Linked DNA regions of Homo sapiens: region 2 is linked to region 1. Evidence: promoter capture Hi-C in human tissues and cell types (Jung and others, 2019). All regions are on one chromosome and are shown on one strand. The core of a region is centred on a gene start or on the middle of the fragment in contact, and the rest is flanking DNA. Distances in the headings are between cores, read along the strand shown. Region 1 holds the start of PAMR1 (peptidase domain containing associated with muscle regeneration 1). Region 2 has its middle 43 kb from the start of PAMR1.

Evidence for each region. The method cuts DNA at HindIII sites, captures the fragments that hold promoters and counts their contacts. A contact is called where the count stands out against the background at its distance.
Region 2: a fragment that was not itself captured here is called in contact with the fragment with the promoter of PAMR1 in region 1 in 1 of the 25 tissues and cell types used here (IMR-90 fibroblasts).

Annotation. Positions count from the first base shown.
Region 1 is chr11:35,523,932-35,527,600 of GRCh38, forward strand. PAMR1 (peptidase domain containing associated with muscle regeneration 1) reads right to left here and starts at 1,685. Exons shown (of 11, transcript NM_001001991.3): 1 at 1,582-1,685. The coding sequence starts at 1,654. The HindIII fragment of the contact is 6,683 bases long and covers 1,091-3,669 here.
Region 2 is chr11:35,566,642-35,570,495 of GRCh38, forward strand. No RefSeq gene overlaps it. Among named protein-coding and RNA genes, the nearest start is that of PAMR1, 43 kb to the left of the region's middle. The HindIII fragment of the contact is 8,001 bases long and covers 1-3,854 here.

The DNA of each region.
Region 1 (3,669 bases), core at 435-2,934:
CCAGCTCAGGTTTTTTTATTTTCTTTTAAACTTTTATGGCTTTGAAGCGCCTCACCTGCCATGTAATAAAACAGGAAGCAGGGGAACGCTGATGTAACCCTGAGGAATCAAATCCACTGAGCCCTGGCACTCTGAGAAGAACCAGGTCCTCTGGAGCTGGTCCACCGACACCATGCAAAGGCGAAGATGAAGTAGGGAGGTGCCTTAATGCAAAGTCACCCACTTACCCCTAGGCAAGTGTTTAGGTTTATGGATTGTCAGCCCTTATGAAGGGCTCCTTCTTCCTTTATTATTGTCTTTGGGCTGCTCCAGACACCATGGAGGCAAAATTCAAATGAAACACTCACCATCTTTATTGTAAATCATTAAGGAAGATCCTACCTGGGCAGGCAGGCTCTAGGTAGATGGAAAGTATTGACCAAAATGAAGGGCAGGGGGGTTTGTGTATCTCAGCTTTTCGTTGATCATGAAGGGATGTGCCTATGGCTAAGTTTCCCTTCTACACAGGTTATTGCATTTAGTATCCTCCCCACCCGACCTGGCCTGTTTCATTCTCAGGCACTTGCCAGCTACTTGCAGCGGCAGAGCACCCAGCTCTCAGATAGAGTTCAGGTGACAGGTAACCAGCACAGAAGGGAAGCAGCGAAGGCTCGTACATAACCTGCCCCTATTCAGAGCTGCCCCGTTTGGTCATTTCTGTACATCTCGGCCTGCCCTCATCTCATGAGGTCTCACTTTACCCCCTGGGCCATAGAAGGACAGATGTTCCTATGACGTTCCCACTTCCCCGCCTGCCAGCAAGCAGGATCTGCCATGTCCTCGCTTCTGCCCTTAGCTGGATCTCCGTATCATGTCCCAGCCTCATTTGTCCCCAGAAGCCCATTTGACCTGGGGATTGTGGCTTAGAAAATGATATATGAAAACCAAAGAAGCCAGAGCTCTTTCAAAACAAACCCTATGCATCCCAGAAACAATCTGCACTTTTAACCTTGGCTTTTTCTTCTTTCTCACTCTCATCAGAAAGGAAGTGTGTCTATATATGCTGAGTGAGTCAATCTCCTGTGCTTGGATCTACTCCGAAGGGGTATGGCTGTAGGAGTTCGTGAAGCAAGATTCACCAGAAGAACACCAAGCAAGCCCTGCTCTTTATTCCTTTCTTTCTTTCCCTCTCTTCTTTCTTTCTTGCTCACCTCTGAGGGAGCCCTTTCCAAGAGAAACTTCGCTTTTGCAAGTCAGAGCGGGTAACTCAGAATTGATTCCCTAAGGCAATTTGGTACTTTTAAAATGATAAAAAGAGCAAATAAAATAGGAGCTGGTCCGCTTTCCTGAGACAGTACAGCCCCACGATTTGGGATGACAAAACCACGTCACAGTCTCAGGGAGGGCCACAGGAGCTCCAGCACCACCAGCCAAGTCCCTAAAATTATCACTGGAAAAGCACCACCCCCCCTCAACCCCTCACCCCAAACACACACAGCCCACCTCCTGAGACTCCCAGTCCTGCTCCCAGGCAGACCCCAGGAGGAAAATGCTCCCTCCTAGGGTGTCCTCCTAGGGTGTCCCGGACGCTACTCACAGTACCTCTTGGCAAGGACGAGATGAGAAGGAGCTGAAGAAAAGTGAGCCCCAACTGCGTCCAGCAACCCAGCTCCATCCTTGCCGCGGCTGGTGCCCGAGCGTCTACTGGGGAGGGAGAGGAGGGACCCAGGGAGGCCGGGGGCAGGCGGGTTTTACAGGGACCTCCCCGAGCCCCAGCTGAGCGGGAGCTCGGGTTTCAGCTCGCCAGGCTCTCCCATCCTCATCTGAGGGGAACCACCTTCAGCCAGAGCGACGTCAGCCCAAACCTCTCCTCTCTGCTGCCTTAACCCTTGCGGGGCCCCGGGAGGTGTGGCCACGCCTGGAGACCCGCGGACGGCGGCTGCAAAGGAAGCTGCGGGGGAGGGAGGCCAGCCTGGGTACAGGTGGGGTCCCAGTGTTGGGTGCTGGGAGGAGGGGCCATAGGACCCTGGGCGGGAGCAGAGGTACCCAGGGCTGCGGGGCGCTCAGGTGAGGCCGGGAGATCTTCCTACGGGAGGCTGAGACGGGAGCTGGCTTTGCCCTCTCTGACTGCACGCGGGGAGCCTGATTAAAAGCCTGGCCTGAGGAGAAGGAGGAGTTGGTGATGGGAGGAGAAAGGGAGCCTCCCTCCACTCCGCACGCAACACTCCTCGTTTATCTCCTTTCCTCTCCGTTTGCTCCAGGTGATCACAGGTTGGAAAGCTTATTATCTTTTGCAACTACAGGCTACTGGAAAAAGTTTTCCTCTTCCTATGATCCCCGTCATGGTGAATTCAGCGACATAAGCAGCTCCTGAGCTACTGGAAAAAGTTTTCCTCTTCCTGTGATCCCCACGATGGTGAATTCAGCAACATAAATAGCTCCTGCGCACACGCCAGGCAGGGATGGCGAAGAACACACAAGAACCCTCACTGCCTCCACCAAAAGGGCTCAGTTTAGGTACAAGATAGCAAGTGACATCTCGAAATGAGGAAGAAGGATGTTTCATAATAGGTGACTTTTTAAAATAAACTCCTCCGTGCCAGGTGTCATGTACCTTACATGTATTAACTCAATTATTCCTCACAATAAACCTAGCCTCTGTATTTTACAATTAGAGAAACGGAACCATTGAGGATTACAATAACTCATCCAAGGCCACACAGTTAGTGAGGGGCAGAGCCAGGGTTTGAACCCGGGCAGCTTAGGCCCACAGGCTATAGTCTTAGCCACTAGGCTATAGAGCTTCTTAGGATGCTACATATGCAGAATTGTATTTCACCATTTGATATGGCTTCGCTGTGTCCCCACCCAAACCTCATCTTGAATTGTGGTTCCCATAAACCCCACGTGTCATGGGAGGGACCAGGTGGAGATAATTGAATCATGGGGACAGTTACCCCCATAAAAGTTTTAATTTTGTTCTCTAGATGTTGGCGGGCCCTGGTGGTTTACAAGTAGGGTGTGCTGAGCTCAAAGCAAAGTCTCGGGAAGAGAAGTCACCCTGGACTATTGATGAAGGCCTGGAGTAAGGATTAAGAAATGGAAGTGGAAGGGAAAAGATAAGGGGAGAAACCTGAGGAAGGTAGAATCTGTAAAGCTCAGGACAGATCAGAAGGTCAGGAGCCCTGACACAGGTGCTCTACTAGAAAGAATTTCTGAACTCCAGCCCTGCTTCTGGGGGCCTATTGCAGTGAAGTGACTGGAAGCAAGAACTCAGCAGGCCTGTGTTCTAATTTTGTTGATTCACCACTTTCTGGCTGTGTGACCTTAAGCAAGTTAACTCTCTGAATCTCAGTCTTCTCATCTATAAAATGGAAATAATAATCAAACCTACTTTGTAGATCACTGGAAGAATTTAATAAGATTACGCATGTAAGGCCCATAGCACAGAGCCTACCACATATTAAGTGCACACTAAATATTAATCATTATCTCTATTATCTGACCTGAGACTGCCCCCAAGAACATCTCATGGTATGAGTCTTGTTCCTACACTCAACTTCCATATCGAGATGAAATCAGTTAAAATAAGCACCAAGAGTAGCCTTAAACAGGAGCAGAATACCAGAGGGCAGCATATACCTAAGAGGTAGAGGGCAGAGGTTCGAAGAAGGGAGGTTCACCTTGTTG
Region 2 (3,854 bases), core at 1,348-3,847, 44 kb after region 1:
CTCATTCACCCCTTCACCTGCCATCCTTGGTAGACATCACCAATGAATCCAAATACAATCGTGCATGGCATCATGACATTCCAGTCAACAATGGCCTGCATATATGACAGTGGTCCCATAAGATTATATATAATACCTTAATTTTGCTGTGCCTTTTCTATGTTTTATATATGTTTAGACACTCAAATATTTACAGTTGTTATAATTACCTACATTATTCAGTACAGCAAGATGCCGTACAGTTTTGTAGCCTAGGAGCCTACACACCATATAGCCTAGGTGCATAGTAAGTTATACCATCTAGGTTTCTCAGAGTACTTTCTATGATGTTTGCTGTCGTTAAGCAACACATGACTGTATTTGTTTCTATCAAGGACTCGAAGTCCTTCCCAGTCAGTGTGGTCAAGAATTATATTTGTTACTTGGTCTAGATCAAGAGTTCCCAAACTTGAATGAACTTCAGACTCACCTGGGGAGCTCCTTAAACATTCAAATGCCTAATCCAGCTTTCCAGAGGTCCTCTTAGGGGTTGGAGTGGGGCACAGGAATCTGAGTGCTTAAAAGTCTTCCTGTGAGGAGGATCCTGGGGAGGAAAAGCCTTTCCTCCGCCCTCTTAGGTTCAGTACTTAGGAGTCTGTGAATTAAACTGACAATAGGAGGTGGAACAAGATGGCCAAATAGAACCCTCCAGCAATCATCCCTCCTGTCCCTCCACAGGAATACTAAATCGAAAAACTATCCACACAAGAAAGCACCTTCATTAGAATAAAAAATCAGGTGAGCAATCACAGTACTTGGTTTTTACATCATCCATCCCAGGAGCTGGAAACTGAGTTCTAGCTATCCCCACCAGCACGGGCTAAAGTACTCTGGTGCCCTAAATAAACTTGAAAGGCAGTGTAGGCCATAAGGACTGCAGTTCCTTGGAAAGTCCTGGTGCTGTGTTGTGCTGGGACCGTGGATTTGGGCTGCATTTGACCCCGTGAGACACCACTCCAGGCAGTGCAGCTCCCAGCTCTGGGAAGAAAGGCAAGAGTAAAGGGGACTTGGTCTTGCAACTAGAATACCAGCTCAGCTACAGTAAATAAAGCACCAAGCAGAATCCTAAGGCCCCCATTCCAGGCCCTAGTTCCCAGATGACATTTCTAGACCCACTCTGGGCCAGAGGAGAACCCATTGTCCTGAAGGAAAGATTCCAGTCGTGGCAGAATTTAGCACCTGCTGACTGAAAAGCCCTTGGGCCTTGAATAAACATCAGCTGGAGCCAGGAAGCAGTCACCACAGGTCTTGGACAAGATCTAGCATGATGCTGGCTTCAGGTGTGACACAGCACATTCCCAGCTGTTGTGGCCATGGGGAAAGATTCCTTCTGCCTGAGAAAAGGAGAGGGAAGAGTAAAAAGGACTTTGTCTTGCAACTTGGGTACCAGCTCAGCCACAGTAAAATAAAGCAACAAGCAGACCCCTAAGGTCCCTGATTCCAGGCATTCCCTCCTGGAGGGAATTTCTAGACCCACCCTGAGCCAGAAGGGAATCTGCTGCACTGCTCAGTCCTGGCAGGATTTATTACCTAGTGAATAAAGAGCCCTTGGGCCTTGCATAAACATCAGCAGAAGTCAGGAAATTGTTGCCACAGGACTTGAGCAAGACCCAGTACTGTGCTGGCTTCAGGTGTGACCCAGCACAGTCCCAGCAGTGGTAGCCATGAGAGTGCTTGCATCACCCCTCCCCTAACTCCAGGCAGCTCAGCATAGAGAGAGAGAGAGTTTGGGGGAAAGTAAGGGAAGAAACCAGGAGTCTTGCCTGTTAATCCAAGGAATTCTCCCGGATCTTCCCCAAGACCACCAAGGTGGTACCTCTACAAGTCTGCAACAGTCACAGCATTACTGGGCTTGGGGTGCCTCCTAATACAGATAAAGCTACAGTGACCAAAGACTTAGTTCACAACACTCAGTTCTCTTTGAATACTTGGAAAGCCCCCCAAGAAGGATGAGTACAAACAAGCCCAGACTGTGAAGACTACAATAAATATCTGACTCTTCGATGCCCAGACATTGAAGATTGTGGATTATGGATTGATTAACATCCACAGCCATCAAGATCATTCAGGAAAACATAACCTCACCATAACTAAATAAGGCACCAGTGATCAATCCCAGAGTGACAGAAATATGTGATCTTTCAGACAGAGAGTTCAAAATAGCTGTTTTTTGAGAAAACTCAATGAAATCCAAGATAACACAGATAAAGAATTCAGAATCCTATCAGACAACTTTAACAGAGAGATTGAAATAATTAGAAAGAATTGAGCAGAAATTCTGGATCTGAAAAATTCAACTGGCAAACCGAAAAATGCATCAGAATCTCTCAGTAGCAGAATTGATCAAGCAGAAGAAAGGATTAGTAAGCTTGAAGACAGGCTATTTGAAAATACATAGAGGATTCAAAAGAAAAAAGAATAAAGCATGCTTACAGGATCTAGAAAATAACCTCAAAGGGACAAATCTAATAGTTACTTGCCTTAAAGAGGAGGCAGACAGAGATAGAGACTGAAGTAGAAAGTTCATTCAAAAATATAGTAATAGAGAACATCTCAAACCTAAAGAAAGATGTCCATATTCAAATACAAGGAAGTTATAGAACACCAAGCAGATATAATCTAAGTAAGAGTACCTCAAGGCATTAGTAATCAAATTCCCAAAGGTCAAGGATAAAGAAAGGATCCTAAAAGCAGCAAGAGAAAAGAAATAACTAACAATTCCACTGCTTGATGTATACTCCAAAGAAAGGAAATCAGCATATCAAAAGATATTTGCACTGTGTTCATGCAACACTATTTAAAATAACCAAGATTTGGAATCAAGTGAATCAACCTTGGTGTCCATCAACAGATGAATGGATAAAGAAAATGGGTGCATAAACACAGTGGAGTACTATTCCAACATAAAAAAGATAAGATCCTGTCATTTGCAACAGCATGGATGCAACTAGAGAGTATTAGTCCGTTTTCATGCTGCTGATAAAAACATACCCAAGATTAGGCAATTTACAAAAGAAAGAGGTTTCTTGGACTTACAGTTCCACATGGCTGGGGAGGCCTCAAAATCATGGCAGAAGGCAAGGAGGAGCAAGTCACATCTTACATAGATGGCAGCAGGCAAAGAGAAAATTTGTGCAGAGAAACTCCCATTTTTAAAACCATCAGATCTCGTGAGAAATAATATAGAAAGGAGCTTCAATATGTCTGGCAGCAGATTTCTCAGTGGAAACTTTACAAGCCAAGAGACAGTGACATGATATATTTAAAATACTGAAGGAAAGAACTTTTATCCTGGAATATAATATTCAACAAAAATACCCTTCAAACATGAAGTAAAGACTTCCCCAGACAAACAAAACCTAAAAGATTTTTATCAACACCAGACCTATCCTATAAGAAATGCTAAAAGCAGTTCTTCAGTCTGCCTAGCAAAAGAAGCAATCAACAAAGTGAAAAGACAACCCACAGAATGGGAGAAAATATTTGCAAACTATCCATCAGTCAAGGGGTTAATAACCAGAATATATAGGGCACTTAAATAAATCAATAGGAAAAAAATCTAATAATCACATTTTTAGATAGGCAAAAGATCTGAATAGACATTTCTCAAAAGAAGACCTACAAATGGTAAATAGGTATATAAAAATATGCTCAACATTTTGATCATCAGAGAACTGCAAATCAAAACTACTGTGAGATTTCCTCTCACCCCAGTTAAAATGACCTTTATCCAAAAGACAGGCAATAACAAATGCTGGTGAGGTTGTGGAGAAAGGGTAACCTCTGTATACTGTGAGTGGGAGTATAAATTAGAA